Linked DNA regions of Homo sapiens: region 2 is linked to region 1. Evidence: promoter capture Hi-C in 16 types of primary human blood cells and fetal thymus (Javierre and others, 2016). All regions are on one chromosome and are shown on one strand. The core of a region is centred on a gene start or on the middle of the fragment in contact, and the rest is flanking DNA. Distances in the headings are between cores, read along the strand shown. Region 1 holds the start of YIPF3 (Yip1 domain family member 3). Region 2 holds the start of CNPY3 (canopy FGF signaling regulator 3).

What was found. Contacts are between HindIII fragments. The CHiCAGO score rates a contact against its expected background, and 5 or more counts as called.
Region 2: a contact is called between the fragment with the promoter of CNPY3 here and the fragment with the promoter of YIPF3 in region 1, in 1 of 17 cell types (erythroblasts). The highest score is 5.1, in erythroblasts.

Annotation. Positions count from the first base shown.
Region 1 is chr6:43,514,766-43,519,767 of GRCh38, forward strand. YIPF3 (Yip1 domain family member 3) reads right to left here and starts at 2,161. Exons shown (of 9, transcript NM_015388.4): 1 at 1,962-2,161; 2 at 1,124-1,330; 3 at 830-936. The coding sequence starts at 2,042. It overlaps POLR1C (RNA polymerase I and III subunit C), which reads left to right and starts at 2,324. Exons shown (of 9, transcript NM_203290.4): 1 at 2,324-2,413; 2 at 2,541-2,612; 3 at 4,568-4,675; 4 at 4,941-5,002. The coding sequence starts at 2,345. RefSeq lists an enhancer at 1,901-2,450. The HindIII fragment of the contact is 5,758 bases long and covers 804-5,002 here.
Region 2 is chr6:42,927,073-42,932,074 of GRCh38, forward strand. It overlaps CNPY3 (canopy FGF signaling regulator 3), which reads left to right and starts at 2,408. Exons shown (of 6, transcript NM_006586.5): 1 at 2,408-2,649. The coding sequence starts at 2,499. It overlaps CNPY3-GNMT (CNPY3-GNMT readthrough), which reads left to right and starts at 2,408. Exons shown (of 5, transcript NR_134892.2): 1 at 2,408-2,649. RefSeq lists enhancers at 1,801-2,302, 1,887-1,936, 1,947-1,996, 2,303-2,804, 2,447-2,706 and 1 more. The HindIII fragment of the contact is 20,502 bases long and covers 1,729-5,002 here.

The DNA.
Region 1 (5,002 bases), core at 911-3,410:
TAAAGGATGAACAAAAAAACCAAGCCAGGATTAAATCTAGTTCTTGAAAAGTCACTCAAAAACTATGCCCTGATATTTTGATTCTGAGACTGTTCTGGTGCTGGGAATAAAAAGATAAACAAGACAGAGCCTGCTTTTGAGATGCTGTTGGTCTCTGGAAGGAAGATTCCAGGAATAAGAAAGGATAGCAGTGGTGAAGTGCTGTCTATTAGAGGCAAGCGCAGAGTTCTTTTTTTTTTTTTTTTGAGATGGAGTCTCACTTTGTTGCTCAGGCTGAAGTGCAGTGGCACGATCTCGGCTCACTGCAAGCTCCGCCTCCGCCTCCCAGGTTCATGCCATTCTCCTGCCTCAGCCTCCCGAGTAGCTGGGACTACGGGCACCCGCCTGTCTAATTTTTTTTGCATTTTTAGTAGAGACAGGGTTTCACCGTGTTAGCCAGGATGGTCTCGATCTCCTGACCTTGTGATCCGCCCGCCTCGGCCTCCCAAAGTGCTGGGATTCCAGGCGTGAGCCACCATGCCCGGCTGGCAAGCACAGAGTTCTATAGGAACACCAGGAGAGAACAAACTGGGGATGGGATTGAGGAATGTGGAACAGAGGAAGTGACATCTGAGGTAGGTTTTGAGGGAAGATGAGTAGTCAGTTAGATGGAAAAGAAGAGGAAGATGGTGTGCTATTATTACTTGTTTCAGTGACAGGTGCAGTGATGAGAGGTGATGGGGTCATGAAGACGGGGAGCCCATCAGAGCCCAGGGCTTGAAATCTGACTGTAGTGTGCATGAAGGTCTAGGTGTTAGGAGGGAAGCTTCTTCAAGAGAAGGCTCCTCACCTGCTTCGCACCTGAGCAGGCTCCACATCAAAGTAGGGTCTGAGGATGTCGATGTTGGCGTACAAGCTGAAGGCCCTGGAGGCTTGTCTTTTCCCAGCCTGCCACATCTGAAGTAAGGAAGATGGGCATAGGTATTGTGGTACTGTTGGTTCTAGATCCTGTTGCCTATTTTCCGTTTGATTTCTACATGGTTCTAACTGGACAACCTGGGGCGAACATCACCAACACCAATTCCAGAACACGGGACATACCTAGGTCTACTTTTCTACCTGCAGAGGATTCAATCTTGCTTACCTGATCTGCCACCTGCCGGCTCAGCTGTCCCTTAAAGCCCTTCATGCCCAGGAACTCTCCATCCTCCTCTTCAGCAGCAGCTGCATCAGCTGCATCAGCGTCTACTTCTTCCTCGCGCAGGCGCTGATGCAGCTCACCCATATCCTCGAAGCTAGAGCCTGAGGTATCATCCATGTTCTCCATGTCAATCACAGCTGAGCCTCCGCCCTGTGAAGACAATGGCTCCTAGAGTGCAGGACTTTTCTGTTCCATCCATTAAGTCCTCTGCTCATCCCAGGGTTTAGGGCTTTGTTCTTCCACTGCTGAGGATACGGCTTGGAATCACTACAGATCATGCCACTCCATTCCCCCTCATATGCTCTCAGAACGCCTGGTTTCTAGCTTTGGCTATCTTTTCTAGCCTGGGAAACCTACTAGTCTTCCATTCATGTCTTTCTCCTATGTTACCTATCAAAGACTAAAAGGCTGAAAAAGTGCCCATTTCCTTCTTTCCTAAGCCCCAAACAAAACTATACACATAGTATGTTTTCAGCGAATGCCAGTGAATCCCACCCAACCCCACTCCATGCCTTACCCCGACCAACCTCCTAACTTGTTCCAAGAATACCTTCTTCCTAATGCCTCGGGCGGGCCCTGAAACCCGAGATCCTCAGGCTGGAGTAGTAGTCTGGCCCTTTCAGGTCAATGTTAATCCCACTGACTTTAGTGTGCACGAAGACCCAAAGAAGAGAGTTTTGTAAATGGAGCGGACTTCCAGGCCCAGAGGGGGAATCCCCAAGACACTTCTGGACATCGCCGGCCCTCCGGCTGCTGGCAGCTGGTGCCTTGGGGCCATTACCTGGATGTTTTCTTCGAACCCTCCCCATTCCGGGCCAGCTCCATTTCGGGCGCCGCCCGCCGGCGCCGCTGTAGTTGCCATGTCCCTTGAGGGCTCCCGTCGCTGAAACCCGCGCTAGCCCCGCGCGCGGAGTGGGCAAGATGTGGGCCTCCGGAAGGTAGACGTCCAGGGTCGAGGAGAGGTGGGATCGGCCGGAACACAAAAAGGAGAAGCCCGGATGTTTGGACAAAAGCAACTTCCGGAAGCTGGGGACGTGGACGGGGGCGGGGAAAAATCTCGCGATATTTAAGATTCCAGGAGGCGGTGCGTTGCCACGGAGACGGAGCAGGGCTACTAGGACGCACGCGCGAGATAGAACCTCTAGTCTCGTGGAGAGATTGAAGATGGCGGCTTCTCAGGCGGTGGAGGAAATGCGGAGCCGCGTGGTTCTGGGGGAGTTTGGGGTTCGCAATGTAAGCCTTGTGGCCTTGAGCTCGGGCGGGAGGAATGAGAGCGGAACAGGGATGGGTCTTGGGATTGGCGTGGGGATAGCTGTGGGCTCACTGTCCCTTCGTGGACAAATTCGTCCCTTTGCTCTAGGTCCATACTACTGACTTTCCCGGTAACTATTCCGGTTATGATGATGCCTGGGACCAGGACCGCTTCGAGAAGGTAAGTGGGGCCGGAGTTGTCTGGGGAGGGTTATGAAGGCCAGACCTTGTGGTCTGAGCAGCCTGTGTCTGTCTCAGAAGCTGCTCTTGGGGGTCGCTCCGTTTGTAAGTTTGTTGAGCAATGTGCTAGACGCTCCGTTTACAGGCCAAATTAGACACGGTTTCTACCCAGTTCTGCAAAGATGTTCAGTCTTGTTGAGGAATGGTGTGTATAAACAGTGAATCTAGTGTAATATGGTGAAGGTGGTTGATAGCGATGAAGACGGCAGGGTTGGGGTGGGGAGCATTACGCTGAGACCAGGAAGAGGGGCGGAGAGGTACTTAACATTTCAAGAGGAGGGTACATCTCAATTGAGCCTTGAATGGTAAGTAAAAAAGAACAGGAGTTAAATTATGAAGGGTTTGTTTCAAGTCAGTGAAGTTCAGGATATACAGGTTTTGTGTGTATTTAGTCTTTTGTATTGTTTCACTTAGCTTAAAATAAGGGTTAAAATTGCATTTAAATAGATTACTGAATGTTACCGTTTAGGCAACTGACCTTTGCGTGCAGCTTATAAACATGATCTGTAAATCAGTGCTTGGGAAAATTTTACTTTTTTAACCTGTTGATACAAGGAATAAAGTATGAACAATGAAAAAGGTTAATGCTTGAAAAAAAATTATGGCTTGTGTGAAGTGTGCTCCGGGCATGTCCAAGTAGTTCTGGCATGAGTGGTAGGCAAGGTTGAAGTGTGTCTTGGGCACTGTTGATGATAGGGAGATTGAATAGTTCTTAAGCAGACATGATGAGATTTGCAACCTTGGTGGCTGGGAGGGAATGAGTTTGAGGAGGATCATATGGAGCAGGCAGATCTGTTGTAAGGGAAGCTGAGGTTGAAGACATGAACTAAGACTGATGGTAGAAATAGAGCAAAGGTAGAATAGAAGGTAAATTTATGATTGCTTTGGTAAAGGCTGTGGGGGTAGCATAAAATGACTTTTTGGCTTGGGAACTGCTTTGATGCATTGTGGTATCATTTACTGAGAGGAGAAATGGGTCTGGGGAACGGGAATGATGATGCATTGTTTTCTGCATGTGGAGAAATCTAGCAGGCTAGAAGACTGCATGCTTGAAATGAGATCAGAAGTGAGATAACATTTTGGGAGTTGTCAGAACAGATAGTTGCTAAAACTGTTAGTACAGTTAAGGTGACCTGGGAGAGAGACAAGAACCTGGCAAATTTAGAGATGGGTGGAAGTCGATCATCAGAGAAGGAAGAAGAGTGGAGCTCAGAGCTCAGAAACCAGGGGAATAGTTCAAAAAAGGAGGAGATTTTTTTCTTTGCTTTTCATGAGGCACTCTTATGTCCCAGGCTGGAGTGCAGTGGCGCGATCTTGGCTCACTGCAACCTCCGCCTCCCGGGTTCAAGCAGTTCTGCCTCAGCCTCCCGAGTAGCTGGGACTACAGTCATGCGCCACTATGCCCAGCTAATTTTTTGTATTTTTGGTAGAGACGGGGTTTCACCATGCTGGCCAGGCTGGTCTCAAACTCCTGACCTTGTGATCTGCCCGTCTCAGCCTCCCAGAGTGCTGGGATTACAGGTGTGAGTGACTGTGCCGGGCCAGGAGGGGGTTTTTTAATCAATGCCAAGCATAACAGAAGTCTAGTAAGAGGACTGAGTAGTGTCAACAAAACTAAGCACTATGGTAGTTTCTGTTCTTCAGTAGAATAGCTTCTGTGGATGGTTTGGTTGGAAGCCATATTGCATAGGGTTTTAATGAATGGACGACAAAAATGGAGACTTTTCATGAAACTTAAAACACTGGGCGAGATAGAATATTTAATAAGAGACATTTGGGCAAAGGGAGGTTTTTGGATGAGAGGATAATACTTGAGGGAATTATCTAAGGGGGAGGTATGAAGAGATATTACACAGAGAGCAGATTTCACTTAAATGTTTTTTCCTGTCCCTCTAGAATTTCCGTGTGGATGTAGTACACATGGATGAAAACTCACTGGAGTTTGACATGGTGGGAATTGACGCAGCCATTGCCAATGCTTTTCGACGAATTCTGCTAGCTGAGGTATTGGCAGGCATGGTGACAAGGCTGGAGTTGCTTTGGGAACTGCACTGACACCTCACTTGGAGAATTAAGTGTCTCAAGCTGTCCTTCCCTCCTTAATTTTCCTGGAATTTTGCTGAGCATTTTACCTTCTCATTCTTTGTAAATTTCTCATTAAACATTCTAGGAAGAGAGATAGCTCCCTACCTCTGGAGGTTGGGGTTACGGGGATAGGTAGGGGGTCTGTTGGGTTTTTGCAGATAAGTGGTTATTTTTCCTTGGGCAGGTGCCAACTATGGCTGTGGAGAAGGTCCTGGTGTACAATAATACATCCATTGTTCAGGATGA
Region 2 (5,002 bases), core at 1,158-3,657, 590 kb before region 1:
GGAGTGCAGTGGTGCGATCTCAACTCTCTGCAATCTCTGTCTCCCAGGTTCCAGCAATTCTCCCACCTCAGCCTCTCAAGTAGCTGGGACTACAGGCACACGCCACCATGCCTGGCTCATTTTTGTATTTTTTGGTAGAGACAGGGTTTCACCACATTGGCCAGGCTGGTCTTGAACTTCTGACCTCAAGTGATCCGCCTGCCTTGGCCTCCCGAAGTGCTGGAATTATAAGTGTGAGCCACTGTGCCCAGCTTGAGCCAACCTAAGTCTTATCAAGCCTAGAAAACATGGAGGACCTTAGGAGGGTGTCCTGATCTTGTACACTGTGGAATTCCACATGCCACAGCCCCTGCCTATCCAAAGTGCTTTGTTACCAACACAGTTTTGGACAAGAAACTAAAGTCAGAAAGTGGCAAGGCCTGGGCCTCAGTGCTCTGAAGTCTTCATAAAATAGCATAAATATCCAACCTCTAGGAAGGAAACAAGAAGGTATCAGGGAACAGGGTTTTATGGCCAATTTGCAGACAACTTCCCAGAGAAGCAACTTTGGTCTGTGTGCGTCTGTAGGACACTGAGTTCAGGGGCAGCCTAAAGAAGACCAAGAGTGCTCCTCTTTATTTTTATTTGTTTATTTTTATTTTTTGAGACGGAGTCTCGCTCTGTCGCCAGGCTGGAGTGCAGTGGCGCGATCTCGGCTCACTGCAACCTCCACCTCCAGGGTTCAAGCAATTCTCCCGCCTCAGCCTCCCAAGTAGCTGGGACTACAGGCACCCACCACCACGGCTATTTTTTTTTGTATTTTTAGTAGAGACAGGGTTTCACCATATTGGCCAGGCTGGTCTCGAATTCCTGACCTTGTGATCTGCCCGCCTTGGCCTCCCAAAGTGCTGGAAATACAGGCATGAACCATCGCGCCCGGCATTTATTATTTTTGAGATGGAGTCTTGCCCTGTCGCCCAGGCTGGAGTGCAATGGCGTGATCTCGGCTCACTGCAACCTCCATCTCCCAGGTTCAAGCAATTCTCCTGCCTCCACCTCCCGAGTAGCTGGGATTACAGGCGTGTGCCACCACGCCCGGCTAACTTTTTGTATCTTTAGTAGAGATGGGGTTTCAGCATCTTGGCCAGGCTGGTCTTGAACTCCTGACCTCGTGATCCACCTACCTCGGCCTTCCAAAGTGCTGGAATTATAGGCGTGAGCCACCAAGCCCGGCCTCCTCTTTATTTTTTATTTTGATTTATTTATTTTTGAGATGGGGGGGGTGTCTCGCTATGTTGACCAGGCTGGTCTCGAACTCCTGGCCTCAAGCAGTTCTCCCTTCTTGGCCTCCCAAAGTGCTGGGATTACAGACATTAGCCACGGCGCCTGGCCTTTTTCTTCTTCTTCTTCTTTGTTGAGACAGGGTCTCAATCTGTTGCCCAGGCTGGTCTCCAACTCCTGGGCTCAGGTGATCCTTCCGCCTCGGCCTCCCAAAGTGCTGGGATTACAGGCGTGAGCCATTAAGTGTTCCCCTTAATGACACAGCAGATGAGAGTTTTACTGAGTATCTCCTTGTGCCAGGCACCCTGTTGTTGCTGGGGAAGCGGAAGGGAGAGACAATCGTTAATCGGCTAAATTTCTGCCTTCTGAGAGCTCAGAATCAAGAAATAAATAATAGGGCAGTAAAAGGGGCTGGGATTACATACAAAAAGAAAATTAATGCCTGAACTTTTTACAATCTGCTCGATAAGCTTTAATTCTATTAACCTATTTGAGCTTCCCAACAACAGGCAAGCTCCCACAGCAGCTAGGAGGATCACTTTGTCGTCATACAAATAGAAACAGGCTCAGAGAGGAAGTCATTTGTTCTAGTTCTCACTAGGACAAATCTACTGGCTACTAAAAAAGTGTGAAGGCTGGGGACAGTTTGAGTCGTCCTGCTTGCACCTTAAGCGCCTACAAGAGTGCCCGGCTATAACAACCACAATACCAATAATAAAATTTAAAAACAGATGTTCAGTAAGGACTTGCGGCATTAGGACCCCAGGAGGGAAGTGACGTTCGAGGAGGCGGAGAAAGCCGCGAAGACGGCCTTCCCCACATCTTCCAGCACCTGCGCGCCTGAATCCGTCCCACCCAGGCCCAGACGCAGGCTTCTTCTCGGGTCTTGGTCCTGCATCCTCTCTCTCCCAGAGCCTCCGTTAGGGGGTGGGAAAGGACTTTGCCATAGGTCGCTGAGGCCACCATCTGCTCTCTTACTGGCCAAGGGCGTAAAAAGATAGTCTTCCCATTAGCTAGAGAGCAAACCCCAGAAAGCCTATTGGCTGCGCCGTCCGCGGGCCTTGGTCCGCTTTGAAGGCGGGCTGCGGCTGCGAGAGGAGGGCGGGCGGGAGGCTAGCTGTTGTCGTGGTTGCTCGGAGGCACGTGTGCAGTCCCGGAAGCGGCGAGGGGAAACTGCTCCGCGCGCGCCGCGGGAGGAGGAACCGCCCGGTCCTTTAGGGTCCGGGCCCGGCCGGGCCATGGATTCAATGCCTGAGCCCGCGTCCCGCTGTCTTCTGCTTCTTCCCTTGCTGCTGCTGCTGCTGCTGCTGCTGCCGGCCCCGGAGCTGGGCCCGAGCCAGGCCGGAGCTGAGGAGAACGACTGGGTTCGCCTGCCCAGCAAATGCGAAGGTGAGGAGGCGGGGCCCGTGGGGCGTATCCTGCCGGAGGGGCTGGCTCCAGCGGTGGTGCTTGCGGAGCAGCGTCGGGGGTTGCAAGGTTCCGAGCTCTGCAGGGTGTCTTCCTTCCTTGAACAGGCTTGCGCCGGGACGCTGCGGCGGACGAGAGATCTGGTCCCGGTACCCCTGGAGTTCACACATTGGTAGAAACAAGCAATGATAATTCAGAGTAGTAGATGCCATGATAGGGGAGGTACAGAGCTTCCTTTTGGGGGCCGGACGAGGAGCATCTGGTCTAGCCTGGAGTGGGGGAGGGGGTGGGCGAAGGCTGTGTGCAGAGGGGAGTCAAAGAGGGCTTCATACAGGAAGCACGAAGAGGCATTAGGAGTTAGCCGGATGAAGAGAAGTGGAAAGAGAGGGGCCCACTCAGGAAACTACAGAGGCAGAGGCCTGCCGGCTGAGAAGCTAAGAACGAGTTTGAGGAACTGAAAAGCTCCAGATGACTCATCTTGGGGGAAAAAAACCTAAGACTTTCCCCTTTTGCCCTCACTGCAACCCAATCTGTGTAGTTGTCTGTTGCACCCACTAACAACTCCTCGAAGGCAGGAATTTTTGTCTTAGATACGTATTCACACAGTGTCTGGTAGGCACTCAATAAATGTTTTGAGAATACAGATGATTAAATGGGAGACTGTGGGTGTGTGTGAGGAGGAGGATCTGGATCTGAGGAGCCCTTTGGGGGAACAATAGAGCCTATGGGGAACTTGAAAGAAGATTTTAGGACTTTGGAGAAAAGGTGAGTCCCAAAGACATAGGCGTTGAGGAACTACAGAGAGAGAGAGAGAGGGAGCTACCAGCGAGCCAGGACTATAAAGGACCTATTTCTTTTTCCTCAACTCCGTCCCTTAGTTTTCTCCTCAGACCTTACAGTCATGCCTGCCTTCCTAGCCCCGTAACCCCAGGGCCCCCAGAAAGTTGGCTGTGAATCTCTCATCTGAATTGAAAGCCTACATCAGGCCAGATGTTCCCTAAACACTGGAAAGTGGGTTTGGGGTAAGTTTCGGACACATAATCCTTCCATTAGAGAGATTAAAAGGATGCTTTAGAGATAAGCCGACTTCACTGGTAGGGCACCCAGTATGAGTTCAAGCCTGTGCCTTCCCCCGTACATTCTTTTCTTTTTTTCCTTTTTTTTTTTTATGAGACTGTCTGGCTCTGTTGCCCAGGCTGGAGTGCAGTGGCGAGATCTCGGCTTATTGCAACCTCTGCCTCCTAGGTTCAAACGATTTTCCTGTCTCAGCCTCCTGAGTAGCTGGGATTACAGGCGCATGCCACCATGCCCAGCTAATTTTTGTGTTTTTAGTAGAGATGGGATTTCATCATATTGGTCAGGCTGGTCTTGAACTCCTGACCTCAAGTGATCCACCTGCCTTGGGCTCCCACAGTGCTGGGCTTATAGGCGTGAGCCTCTGCTCCTGGCCGCCCTTTCACTTTTCGCTCTTCCTCTAGTCCTGATAGCTTTTTTTTTTTTTTTTGAGATGGAGTTTCGCTCTTATTGCCCAGGCTGGAATGCAGTGGCGCGATCTTGGCTCACCGCAACCTCCAGTGACCCACCCTCCTCGGCCTTACAAAGTATTGGGATTACAGGCATGAGCCACCGTGCCTGGCCTTTTTTTTTTTTTTGAGACGGAGTCTTGCTCTGCCCAGTCTGGAGTGCAGTGGTGCGACCTTGACTCGCTGCAACCTCCGTCCCCCAGGTTCAAGGATTCTTCTACCTCAGCCTCCCGAGTAGGTGGGACTACAGGTGTGTGCCACCACTCCCGGCTATTTTTAGTAGAGACGGGTTTTCACCATGTTGGCCAGGCTGGTCTTGAACTCCTGAACTCGGGTGATCCACCCACCTTAGCCTCCCAAAGTGCTGGGATTACAGGCGTGAGCCACTGCACCCAGCCCAGCTAACTGATAGCCTTTCAGCGTTTCGCTTCCTCTTCTCTTTCTTTTCTGTCTTATTATTATTATTATTATTTTTTTTTGAGACGGAGTCTTGCTCTGTTGCCCAGGCTGGAGTGCAATGGCACAACCTCGGCTCACTGCAACCTCTGCCTCCAGGGTTCAAGTGATTCTCCTGCCTCAACCTCCTGAATAGCTGGGATTACAGGCACCTGCCATCATGCCCGGGTAATTTTTGTATTTTTGTAGAGACTGGGTTTCACCATGTTGGCCAGGTTGGTCTTGAACTCCTGACCTCAGGTGATCCTCCCACCTCAGCCTTCCAAATTGCTGGGATTACAGGCATGAGCCTCCGTGCCCAGCCTGTATTCTGTCTTATTCTGATATCAAAGAGCCCATACTCTCCCTCTTATTAT